Regions from separate parts of the Homo sapiens genome. Here region 2 is linked to region 1. The links are contacts of gene promoters, found by promoter capture Hi-C in blood cells and fetal thymus (Javierre and others, 2016). All regions are on one chromosome and are shown on one strand. The core of a region is centred on a gene start or on the middle of the fragment in contact, and the rest is flanking DNA. Distances in the headings are between cores, read along the strand shown.

Region 1 (6,252 bases), core at 2,024-4,523:
TGAGACTCCATCTCAAAAACAAAACAAAACAAAAACAAACAAACAAAAACTCAATACACCTGTATTAGTATTGAGTTTAATTGACATACCAAAACATGCACAGTTCCTAAGCATTCAGCTGTTTGCATACATATGCACCCCTGCAGCCACCATCTGTGTCACCCCAGAAAGTTCCATAATGCCCCTTCCCAGCCAATACCCATCTTCACCCTGGAGAGGGAGCCGCCAATGTCACCTCTAGCGCCATAGATTAGGTGTGCCTGGTAATGAACTTCATGATGCCCAGAGATGACTACTATTCCCATTTTGCTGTGCTATATTTCCTTCCAGACTTTCACACATGGATTTTTTTTTTTTTTTCTTGAGACAGAGTCTCGCTGTGTTGCCCAGGCTGGAGTGCAGTGGCACAATCTCGGCTCACTGCAAGCTCCGCCTCCCGGGTTCACGCCATTCTCCTGCCTCAGCCCCCTGAGCAGCTGGGACTACAGGCGTCCACCACCACACCCAGCTAAATTTTTTTGTATTTTTAGTAGAGATGGGGTTTCACTGTGTTAGTCAGGATGGTCTCGATCTCCTGACCTTGTGATCTGCCTGCCTCGGCCTCCCAAAGTGCTGGGATTACAGGCACCTGCCACCTTGCCCAGCCATACATGGATTTTTAAAGAATATAGGATTCTAATGGACACAGTGATTTATACAGCATGCCATTTCATTCAATAGATCATGCGATCATGCATCTCCAAGACAGTTTCCTTCGTGAGCTTTTTTTTTTTTTTAGACAGAAGAATCTTGCTGTGTTGCCCAGGCTGGAGTGCAGTGGCACGATCTTGGCTCACTGCAATCAAGGCCTCCCAGGTTCAAGCAATTCTCTGCCTCAGCCTCCCAAGTAGCTGGGACTACAGGTGAGTGCCATCACACCCGCTACTTTTTTTTTTTTTTTTTTGAGACAGAGTTTCACTCTTGTTGCCCAGGCTGGAGTATAATGGCGTGGTCTCAGCTCACTGCAACCTCTGCCTCCCTAATTCTCCTGCCTCAACCTTCTCGAGTAGCTGGGATTACAGGCATGTGCCACCCCGCCCAGCTAATTTTGTATTTTTAGTAGAGATGGGGTTTCTCCATGTTGGTCAGGCTGGTCTCAAACTCCTGACCTCAGATGAGCCGCCTGCCTTGTCCTCCCAAAGTGCTGAGATTACAGGCGCAAGCCACCGCGCCTGGCCTAGTTTTTTAATTTTTAGTAGAGATGGAGTTTCGTCATGTTGGCCAGGCTGGTCTCAAACACCTGACCTCAGGTGATCCACCTGCCTTGGCCTCCCAAAGTGCTGGGGTTATAGGCGTGAGCCACCATGCCCAGCCATCTCTTCCTCCTTTTGATCAGCATATTGTCTTGGGATTTTGCAAAGTAAATAAGTACTGTATTTGCACCCACTCTGCCCTTGAATCATCCAGTGTCCCCAAACGGTCCTTCTTTCTCCATCTTTTCTGCTAATGTTTACTGAACATCTCCTACATACCTGGCACTGTGCCTCCAGCCTTAAGACCCCTCTGCAAGCATCTCACATATATCAGGTCTTTCGGACCCATGAGACCCCGTGTCATTGCTTTACCTCCCTGAGTCTCAATTTTTTCATCTGCAAAATGCATTCAGAGGGAAGCCCCCATTATGAAGGGTTCCCTGCTCCTGACTGTAAGGCACTCTGTGGCTGTTAGCCACAGTCAGGGCGAGCTGCTTTGTAGGGGTTGATGTAGTTTGGAGGCCCTAGAAGAAAAGACTACAGGGCCGGGAGTGGTGGCTCACGCCTGTAATCCCAGCACTTTGGGAGCCCGAGGCCGGTGGATCACCTGGTGTCAGGAGTTCAAGACCAGCCTGGCCAATATGGCAAAACCCCGTCTCTACTAAAAATACAAAAACTAGCCGGGCATGGTGGCACACGCCTGTAATCCAGCTACTAGGGGGGCTGAGGCGGGAGGATTGCTTCAACCTGGGAGACAGACGTTGCAGTGAGCCAAGATTGTGCCACTGCACTCCAGCCTGGGCAACAGGGCTAGACTCTGTCTCAAAAAAACAAAAACAAAAACAAACAAAAAAACCCCACAAAAGCAAAGAAGGTCCAGAGCCCGGAAGGCGGGAGGGGCTCTGAAGACTTTATCACACTTTACCTCCTCTGTTCCTCCCAACAGCCCAGCTCTTGGTAGGTGCTGTTGTCCATTTCACAGATGAGAACATTGAAGGGGAAGTAATTACCCTAGAGGTGGGAAGAACAGAGTGAGGGTACCCAACAGGTAGCAAACGACAGAGCTGGGGGAGGGGAACCCCTGTCCCTGCCCCTCCCCTAATCTCTGAGGGGATCAAGACAGAAGTAAACAAGCTTTGCCGTGCCCAGGACAATTGTTACTTTGTTATTCCAGGAGCGCTCTGCCTTCTCCCACCCCCAATATACCCCAGGGCTGGAGTTAGGTCCTACCCATCCCCGCGTAGCAGGCTGCCCACCCGCCCACCCCGCCTGGAAGCTTTCTGATTTCTCTGTTCGCCCCGCCAGGCGCTGTGGGGTCCGTCTCACCAGGTCTGCACGTGAGCCCCCTGCCCCCAATCCCTCCCAGTCCCGCCCGCCTCTCGCGGACCCGGAGCCCCGACGGGAGGGGGAAGGCAGTGGGTGTGTCATGCAGCTGGAAGGCTGCGGACGGGCGGCAGTGGAGGGGCAGCCCCCTGGCTTCGGGTATGGATCACTGGATGCTGCTGCTAACCAAATGTGAACCTCGGTTTTCATATTTGTGAAATAGGCTTTAAAACACCTAAATCCCAAAGCTGCCAGCCTAAGGAGCACACGTCTTTGAACGCTGGCTTCACGCTGTCATTTAAGTCATTTCGTCCTCTTGGAGCCTCGGTTTCCACGTGGGTAAAATGATCGTGAAAAAAAGCACCGAGGAGTACTTTGAGCTCGAACGGAGGCCATCCGTGTAAAGGGCCAGATTCTGTCAATGGATCGATCCCCCCGATATTGATGGAAACCCCTGAGTGCACGCCCGTGCTGGGCGCAGGGGAAACAGCGACGCACGGGACAAAACAAGCTTGCAGAACAGCAGGGGGCAGAGAGGCTGTAAACAAGCCAACGGGCTGCACTTGTAGCGGTTCTGTTGCCAATGCCATTCAGACCCCAGTCCGGGATTCCGCGCTCGGGGTGCGAGAGGCCGCTCCCGGGGAGGGGCGGGACCCGGGCGGGGCGGGAGGGGCGGGGCGCCCGGGCCTATTAGGTCCCGCGCCGGCAGCCGGGCCGCAGACACGAAGCCTCCCGGGTGGCTTACAGACGCTGCCAGCATCGCCGCCGCCAGGTGAGTGCCCCCGACCCTGCTGCCGCCCGCTGCTCCGCCCAGCTCGAGCCCGGCGGTTAGCGCCCAGGCCGCGGCCCGGGTGCCGAGCGGCTGGAAGTGTGGGGAGCCGTGCCCAGGTTTTACCGCTCCAGCAAGTCGCTGGCGGGGCGACGTCTCGGGACTCCGGCTCCGAAACGTACCCTCTCTGTCCGGGGCTCCAGGTCCCCGACGGGCGATCGTGCCAGGCGCGGCCCCTGCGGGCCTCAGTCTCCGCGCCTGTGCAATGGGGTGGTCCCTCTGCGTCTCGCCGCGACGGCTGGACGCCCCATCGCCGCCGCACAGTCCTCCAGTGCGGCTTCCGGGCACCCGGCTCCGAACTCTGGGGTCGTGCGGACCCGGCCAGACCGTAGCGCGGCAACGCCAGCCCACGGCCGCGGCCGCACAGCCCCGGTGCCCTTAAAAGAGGGAAGATGGCGTCGTGCCCGGTGCCGCCGGGACCGGCTCCCGGAGGCGCTGCGCACCTGAGGAAGGGCCGAGGAAAGGCTTCGTAACGGGACGCCCAGAAAGTCCGGAACAGGAACGTGCACACGGAGCGGCGCGCAGCCGCCCGCCCTCGCTTGCCCACGCGCCCTGCACAGGTGCGCCCCAGACTGGGCGGGGACTAGAGCCCGGCTGGGGCATGCGACCTTGTTTGGTAAATTGGAGGTGCGCCCCTGCGGGTGACCCGCGAGGGGGCCCCCCGCCTGCGGGGCGCGGTCACGACAAGGCTTGTGGGGTTCGGAGCTGGTCGTCGTCTGGGCTCTGGCCTCCTAAATGCGATCGCTTTCAAGCCCTTCATTGTCAATTTTGCTAGAATGAGCCACTCGTGGGGTAGGACGTGGTTGTTGATGTTACTGTTGTAGCTCTTACTATTGTAACATTTTTGTTGCTGTTTTAACGCAGTGTTTACTGTGGTCTGGGAGCCCGAGCTTCCCAGGGAGCATTGGTGTCAGCCTCATGTCCCCGCATTAGGAGGAGCGCAGTCTGGTGGGCACTAGCGCCGGGAAGTTCTTAACATCTGTCTGCCCCTGGGAGCAGGAGGCCTCATCTTCCAGGTGGAGAAACAGAGATTTCAGTCCCAGGAGGCACAGAAATGCCAGGGTTGTCTAGCTAGAAGCCAAGGGCCCTTTATGGAACCCAAGCCAAAACCTCTTTCCACTCTCCAGCCCTGTGGCCTCGGAAGGGCCACTCCATCTCTCTGAACCTCAGTTTGTTCTGTTCACTCTGCAAAATGTATCCCTGAGGTTTCTGGCCAGGTGAAAGCCCCTCTCAAGTTAGTAGCCTCCCTGGAGTTAAGACTCACCCCGATTTCTACTTAATTTGGGCACGCCTTTGGAATAAGTTCTCAGGAATGGCACAGTTTGGGTGTTTTTTGTTTCTTTTTGTTTTTTTTTGAAACAGAGCTTCGCTCTTGTTGCCCAGGCTGGAGTGCAATGGCGCCGTCTCGGCTAACTGCAACCTCGGCCTCCTGGGTTCAAACGGTTCTCCTGCCTCAGCCTCCTAGTAGCTGGGATTACAGGCGCCTACCACGAGGCCCAGCTAATTTTTTGTATTTTTAGTAGAGATGGGGTTTCACCATGTTGGCCAAGCTAGTCTCGAACTCCTGACCTCAGGCGATCCACCCGCCTCAGCCTCCCAAAGTGCTGGGATTACAGGTGTGACCCACCCCGCCCGGCTTGAGTGTTTAAATACTCCTGCCTCAGCCTCCCAAGGTGCTGGGATTACAGACGTGAGCCCCTATGCCTGGCCCTTTTTTTTTTTTTAATTGTCTTAAGGATGTTAAGACTAAGATTCTCACACATTTGACTCGTGCCTGTAATCCTAGCACTTTGGGAGGCTGAGGCAGGAGGATTGCTTGAGCTCAGGAGACTAGACTGGGCTAGACCAGACTGGGTAACATGGTAAAACCCTGTCTCTACCAAAAATACAAAAAATTAACCGGGCATGGTGGCATGTGCCTCTGGTCCTAGCTACGCAGGAGGCTGAGTTCAGAGGCCTACCTGAGCTTGGAGGGGTTGAGGCTGCAGTGAACCCTGATCATGCCACTGCACTCTAGCCTGGGAGACAGAGTGAGACCCTGTCTCAAAAAAAGGAGCATTAGGCTGGGCATGGTGGCTCACATTTGTAATCCTAGCACTTTGGGAGGCCGAGGGAGATGGATCACCTGAGGTCAGGAGTTGTGAGACGAGCCTGGCCAACATGGCAAAACCAGTCTCTTTTAAAAATGCAAAAATTAGCCGGTCGTGGTGGCGTGTGTCTGTAATCCCAGCTACTTGGGAGGCTGAGGCAGGAGAACTGCTTGAATCTGGGAGGCAGAGGTTGCACTGAGCGGAGATCACACCATGGCACTCCAGCCTGGGCCACATAGGGAGACTCTCTGTCAAAAGAAAATTTAAAAAAGCATCAAATGGTAGATCCCCAGTGTCTGTTACAGCTTGGGTACTCTATGGCTGGATAGAGAGGCTGCATACATGTTAGTTATTGTAAGTTTGTTTGTTTTTTTGAGACGGAGTTTCGCTCTTGTTGCCCAGGCTGGAGTGCAATGGCTGGGAATACAGGCGTGAGCCACCTCACCCGGCTCAAGATTCTTACACATTTGACTTGCCTGTAATCCCAGCACTTTGGGAGGCTAAGGCGGGAGAATTGCTTGAACCCAGGAGGCGGAGATTGCAGTGAGCAGAGATGGTGCCACTGCACTCAGCCTGGGCTAACGTGAGACTCCATCTCAAAAAAAAAAAAATTACGTCTTGTGTCACAGAGCTGCAGATAAACCAGAGACTACTCATAACCGTGTACTTTTTTTTTCCCCCATTTCTGATCCCGTCTCAACGGAAGGATGTAATTGAGGAAGGGCTTGATTGGCCAGTGAGTCTTGAAGCTGACACCACTGCTGGTGGTATTTTCCCC
Region 2 (6,252 bases), core at 1,013-3,512, 240 kb before region 1:
ACAAGGTCTCACTATGTTGCCCAGGCCACCTTTTCTTCTTGCTCTAACTCTCCAACTGGAAAAGTATCACTTCTACTTGGGGAAACTGAGGCCTAGAGACAAGCTGAAGTTTCCAAGCTGGCCCCTGAGGGCAGGGCAGGAGAGGGAAGATGGGCAGTTAGAGGCCCTGCCAGATCTCTCACGGGGGGGGCCGTGTGATCCAGCCTCAGAGTGGAGGTTGCTTCATCCAGCTCAGCGGGGACCGTGGTCTTGCCATGGTGTTTGGGCAGTGACTGAGGCCACTGGCACCAGGAGCCTGCTTCTGACCCCCCACCTTCCCTCCCAACCCCGTTCTGCCTGTTTCTCTGCAGCCTGGGGCTGTGGGCCGAGCCGGGTGTCCGCCCTGCGCTGTAGGGCTCCAACTCCTCAGAAGCTGGGAGCAGGGGACCCGCCACCCCTCAGACAAGGAGGCTGCGTGACAAGGATCTGTCCCATACCCTTGCTGAGCTGGGACAAAGCCACACTGCAGGGGCAGCTGCCTGCCTTGCTCCTCCCAGGTGCTCTGTGAGGCCCCATGCCCAGCTGGCGTGCTTTTCTGGGCAGCCTTCCCAGGGCTCGGTGAGCGTGGCCACAGCCGCCCTCACGTCTTGCTTCTCTCCTGTCTTCAAGCCAGTCCAAGCCTCCTCCCTCCTCAGTTTCTCCAGCGAGGGAGGGGGTGGTTCCTCAGGGATTTCGCTCAGTGCTTTGGGCTGGCTGAGACTCCTCAAGAAACCCTGGCTGGCTCTTGGAGCCTCTGTTTCCTCCTCGGTAGAATGGAAATGGGGAGACTTGCCCATACCCTGTGGAGATGTTTGGAGACGCAGATAATGTAAGTAAAAAGTGGAGAGCACACAGTAGGTGCTCAGGAAAATGTGCTCATAGGAGAGTTATGGGTGATGTCAGTCTTGTCCTGCTGTTTGGGCTGGGGCAATAGAGAGGCGCCAGCCGATGCCCGCACCATGTGGAAGCCCAGGTCAAACAGCAGCAGGTCTCGGGGAGAAGGGAACCCCAAGGGGCTCAGGTGCCTCAAATCCCCAACCTCCAGTTTGGCAGGGGCAGTGGGCCGTGGCCTTTTGGGCAGGGGTCCTGTGCCCTGGATCTTGCCCAGCTCCAAAGCTAGTAAGCCCCAGGGAGGCCACCCCCGCCAAGTGAAGTGGGCATGAAGACAGATGATGGCGAAGGGACTTCCATATGCACGAGATCAACTGTTTATTGATTTTTTTCCTCAAATACTACACATGTAAAGGAACTGTTAAACTGAAAAAGACTTGACAATTTTTGGTAAATCCGTAGCACAGAAATGAGGATTTCTGCTGGTAAGTTCTCAGGACAGACACAGACACAGGTCCACTTTCCAAGCAAGACATCTGCTCACTGGAAACGGAGTGAATGCATAGCTGGTGACGGCGGCGGGCACTGCTGAGTCACGTGAAACACAGGTTCCCCCACGTTCCCCCCACCCCCGCCGGCCCGCGTGGCCCCCGCGTAACTCTGGCTGCAGCACCTGCTCCCGGGCGACTCCGGGCAGCCCGAGACACTCGTGCTGCGGGTAAGACCCAGCTTCTGTTTGTGCACAAGTAACACGACGACTGAAATCTGCAACTACTGCAAAGACGCGGGCACTTTTACAGTGTTCTGCTACGGAGCCAGGACAAAGGCCGGTCAGAAGCCGGACCAGCAGTCAGCTGGTGACGACGAGCCTCCCTCCAGCAGGCACCACGTCAGAGAGGCCCCAGGCCCACTGAGCCCGGGAGGAGACCCAGCCGGCCAGCCAGACGTGTGCCTGAATGCCACAGACTTCAAGCAGTTTACAAACGAAACTCACTGTTAAAAGCTGTTAAATCTCATTAAAACAGTAGACGAGTGCTTTAGATTCTCTGAATATCAAATAATATATACAGATAGACACTGAGACATGACAGTCTAATCTAAAGCATCTTTACAGATGCATTTGCTTGAAAAGTTAGTCTTCTTTTTAACTCTGAATCAGTGATAAAATTGTTAATTTGCAAAAGAGTACAGTTTTAAGCAAGAATAGAGTGAAAATAATTTTTAAATATGGCGATTTGGGGGAGTTCTACCTAAGGTTCTATGTAAAGCTTCCATTCAGATGCCCAAAAGCACAAAGAGCATTCCCAATAGAAACCCGACCATAACCCGGTCCCACCTTCCTGGCATAATTCCTTTCCTCAAACATCTGCCACCTGAGGCTAAGCCTACACACGGCGTGGCTGAGTAACAGGGTAAGGGAATAGGGAGATCGTTTCCTCAAGACTGGTGCGCATCAATCTGTGCCATAATTTAAGTAGAAATGAACAGGTGTATAAAAAAGTATAACTGTACACAGCCTTTAAATTAAAAACCTCAAAATCTTCACTCAAAATGGGATGTAAGCTTGTTCATTTAAGTTGCAGGTGATGGACTCGTCAGAGAGAGTAATCAGTGGAACAAGATCAGTGTAACCCACCATTGACTCGGAAAGGAGAGACAAAGTCAAGAACATAGAGATCTATGATAGGCCAACAGGCACAGTGGGCGGGGAGGGGCGGCTATTTCTGTTGTTCTGCGTCTTCCTGCGCTCAGATCCCTCCAGCTGCACTCGGAAAGGTGCCGAGTCCCAGGCGAAATGACCAGCTCATCTGCCTTCCAGGAACACCATGAAGCCAAGAGCAATGGAACCATCATCTCTTGCAGGAAAAGGAGTGGATGCCCACGTGGCTGGCTGAGGCTCCTGGGCCCGCCGCCTCCGTCCCCCCGCTGGCCTGTCCCCGACTCATCACTGGATCGCCTCCACATAATTTGCCGGGTATAGGCCAACTTGCCCGTTGTCCAAGCGTCCCTTGCACCAGCCCTGCTCATCCTCGTCCTCCATCTTGGTCAGCTCATCCCCTGCAAGACAAAGAGGGAGCCGTCTCCATGAGAGGTATGACACCGACGGTGGGCTACAGAGCCGCATTCACGAGCTTTGAGCCCACAGAGGGTGGAGGGCCAGGCATTCTGTGGCGGGCAGGCCGAGGGCCTGGTCATTTCTCTACTAAATGCATGCATTTTAAGTTGCCTCTTTGGTCATGGGCCTCTGACAGACCTAGAGATGACAGTCTCACACAGTAATTTGGAACAAGCTGCTCTCAGCTGCCACAGTGGCTCCCACTGAGACTGCGGCATCCAGCTCCATAGGGCTGTGCCTTCCTCACCACCCTGGCCAGGTGGCAGGAATCGTCCCTCGGTTGTGCCCCTCCCTCACGTTGGGCCTCTTCTGTCCCCTCCCCAGGGCCCCGGCCGCCTTGCTCCCAGCAGCTGTCTCTGGGGTCTCTCTGCCTTTGCTAATCCCTCTCCTCTGCAACTTCCAGGCTGCGAGGGGAAGGGACCATGTCTGACAGTCATACCTGTCATTTTATCCCCAGCACCTGGCTGATGACTTGTGCACGGTGCCATGTGTCAACCCTTCCTGAGACCCTGAGAAGGAGCCCCTGGCGCTGTTCTGGAATCTCCCTGTGGCTCTAATGTATTAACGTGGTTCCATTTATCTTTGGTTGTTCCAACCTGAAGGACCTCCTACTTCTGGCCAGGCCTTGGGTAGAAGAGGAGATACAGAGATGAGAGGAACTGATGGATCCTGGTCTCAAGGAGGCAGACTAGGGTGGTGAGGGGGAGGTGGCACTAGGGTAGGGCCCCAGGTCTGGCATTTGCCAGGTTAGGGAAGCAGAGCAGCTCAGAGCCCAGGGGTGGGCAGGGGCCTGTGTGCTTCTGGTTGGTAACTCACTGCAGGGAAGGCCAGTTGGGCCTGCTGGCTCGGACCTCGTCAGGAGCAAGCAATTGGTGGGAAAGAAATAGTCCCAGTGCTGTTTTGCCTTTATTGCTAAGTTTGAAGTTTTGTAACTCTCTTTGGCATTTTTTGGTCCATTTTTCAGAATTAGATGCAGTTTTCCCCCTGGTTTAGCATTTCCCTGATGCTTTGGATTTTGTATGGCAGCAATGCTGGTCAACATGCCTGCGGAGCTAATACCTGGGGCTTCCAGTGCTCCCCGGACTGCCTGGGCTCAAATCCCACAGCCATCACTCACTGGCTGGGAGACCTGGACCAACTGCGTCCACTCCCTGGGCCTGTGGCCCTCATCTGTGGACTGGGGGTACTGTGAAGATTAAGTGTTAAGACACTAAAGAACCCTGGGAGGGTGGGACATGCGTAAGCACTGGCTCAGCCTCCCACTGTCGTGCCGCTTCTGCCAGACCAGTGCGCCTGCAGATCTAACCCAGAGGCATCAGGAGCAGATGCAGGGGCCACAGGGCAGCAGCCACGATGAACCACCATCTCTTTCCACCGCTTCGTGCCTCGGGCCCCTGGCGTTTCTTTTGTCCTGCCTTCATTGGTTGCTGTGCTCTCACAGGCCTGGATCCAGGCTACCGAGGCTAGGATGAGGCCTGTAACCCCACACTACCATGTGGCAAACAGCCAGAACACCGCAAGAGACGTAAGTCAAGCCACACTGGCTGGGAGCTAATTTTGCATTGTTAAAAAGCAGGATAACACAGAAAATAGAACGGACAGGAAAGCTTTCACATTGTGCAAATGTGAACTGGTGATTAGAAGGTTCATTTCAATCAGTTTGCTTTTGACAATTTACTTGGATCTGGAAGAAACATTTTAAATCTACAAAATTACTGTCAAACCCAATAGGCAGGATTGAAAAGGAGTTAGAAATTATAAACAAATAAACCAACAAAGTCGGGGGTAACAACCCCAACCAAAGATATCAGAAACTGGATGAAGATGGCTTAAAGGCACATTAAAAAAAAATCCAAAAAAACAAAAAAACCCAACTTCTCAAACTGGGCAGAGGCAGCTGATAACCAGCCCAGGGGAAGAGTGTCTGGGGACAGCAGGCTGGCACTCTGGGTGCTGAGGGGAGGAGGCTGAAGACTGGTTAGAAGCTAGGCCATTGGGCACAGCCCCCAGGCCCTGGCTTCCCTGCTGAGTCAGGGGTTGGGGTGGTGGTGGTAAGGCAGCCTTTCCCACAAGTGTAGCCTAGGGGCAAGGGCACACTTCAGCCTGTGTGGGTTGAGTTCTGGCCCAGCTTCCCTCTTGGAGTGGTAGATGCTGCTTCTGGGGGAGCTTCACAAAGAGGGCAAGAGAGGGAAGAATCTGGGTTGCTGTGGGTCCACTTTGGCCCTAGGCCACTCCAGCTTCCTTAGGTGCTAAGATAGCAATTTTCTTTCCTTTTTTTTTTTTTGAGACAGAGTGTCACTCCATCACCCAGGCTGGAGTGCAGTGGTATGATCTCAGCTCACTGCAACCTCCACCTCCCAGGTTCAAGTGATTCTCTTGGCCTCCCCAGTAGCTGGGATTACAGGTGTGTGCCACCATGCCTGAATAATTTTTTTATTTTTTAATAGAGGCAGGGTTTCACCATGTTGGCCAGGCTGGTCTCAAACTCCTGACCTCAAGTGATCCTTCGGCCTTGGCCTCGCAAAGTGCTGGGATTACAGGTGTGAGCCATCGTGCCCGGACAAGATAACACTTTTCAAATTGAAGATGTGAAAAGCCATTTTGGTAAACTGCAAATGCATTAAAAAAGATTCCTATAGTGGGTGGGGTGGTAGCACACATCTGTGGTCCCAGCTACGTAGGAGGCTGAGGTGGGAGGACTGCTTGAGCCCAGGAGATCAAGGCTGCAGCTGCTGTGAGCTATGATCGCACCACTGTAACCCAGCTTGGCTAACAGAGTGAGACCGTGTCTCTATTAAAAAAAAAAAAAAAAAAGATTATCATTGAAGACCATTCAAAGAAGAAAAAGACATTGCACAGAAAGTCTTCACAGGCAGAGCACATGTAATCAGGATCCAGGCTGTTTTATAAAACTATGGTTTCTGCTCCTAGCAACACAGATATGTGTGTGGGTTGGTGTGTGCATGGTAGGTGTGGGCAGGTAGGTGTGCACACACACAAGTTGCTGCCTGAGACAAGGCCCCACCTGGCCCAGGGGCATGCCAAGTGCTACTCTGGGGTCTGGGCAAAGCTGTGGCTCTCCTGAGGGCTTCTCTGGCAGTTGGGGACCCCTAGAGAAAGGCTTCTCTCATGGCCCTGCGGGGCTAGCAGCTCCCAGACTACATATGGGGGAACCTGGTGGTCCTGGCCAACAGCTTCTCCAGATGCCCTTCTGTGTGACTAGCCAGTGCCCTGCAATTCACAGCCTTGGCCCAGCAAGGTGAGGAGTCCAGGCACTGGCTTGGCAG

Evidence for each region. Contacts are between HindIII fragments. The CHiCAGO score rates a contact against its expected background, and 5 or more counts as called.
Region 2: a fragment that was not itself captured here is called in contact with the fragment with the promoter of BIK in region 1 in 2 of 17 cell types (neutrophils and naive B cells); the score reaches 5.8 in neutrophils.

The regions. Positions count from the first base shown.
Region 1 is chr22:43,107,477-43,113,728 of GRCh38, forward strand. BIK (BCL2 interacting killer) reads left to right here and starts at 3,274. Exons shown (of 5, transcript NM_001197.5): 1 at 3,274-3,327. RefSeq lists silencers at 3,224-3,393, 3,924-4,143 and an enhancer at 3,341-3,899. The HindIII fragment of the contact is 21,199 bases long and covers 3,065-6,252 here.
Region 2 is chr22:42,868,563-42,874,814 of GRCh38, forward strand. It overlaps PACSIN2 (protein kinase C and casein kinase substrate in neurons 2), which reads right to left. Exons shown (of 11, transcript NM_001184970.3): 11 at 1,211-2,907. The coding sequence ends at 2,795. It overlaps LOC101927393 (a long non-coding RNA gene), which reads left to right and starts at 2,852. Exons shown (of 3, transcript XR_001755575.2): 1 at 2,852-2,941; 2 at 3,423-3,523; 3 at 3,930-6,252. The HindIII fragment of the contact is 295 bases long and covers 2,116-2,410 here.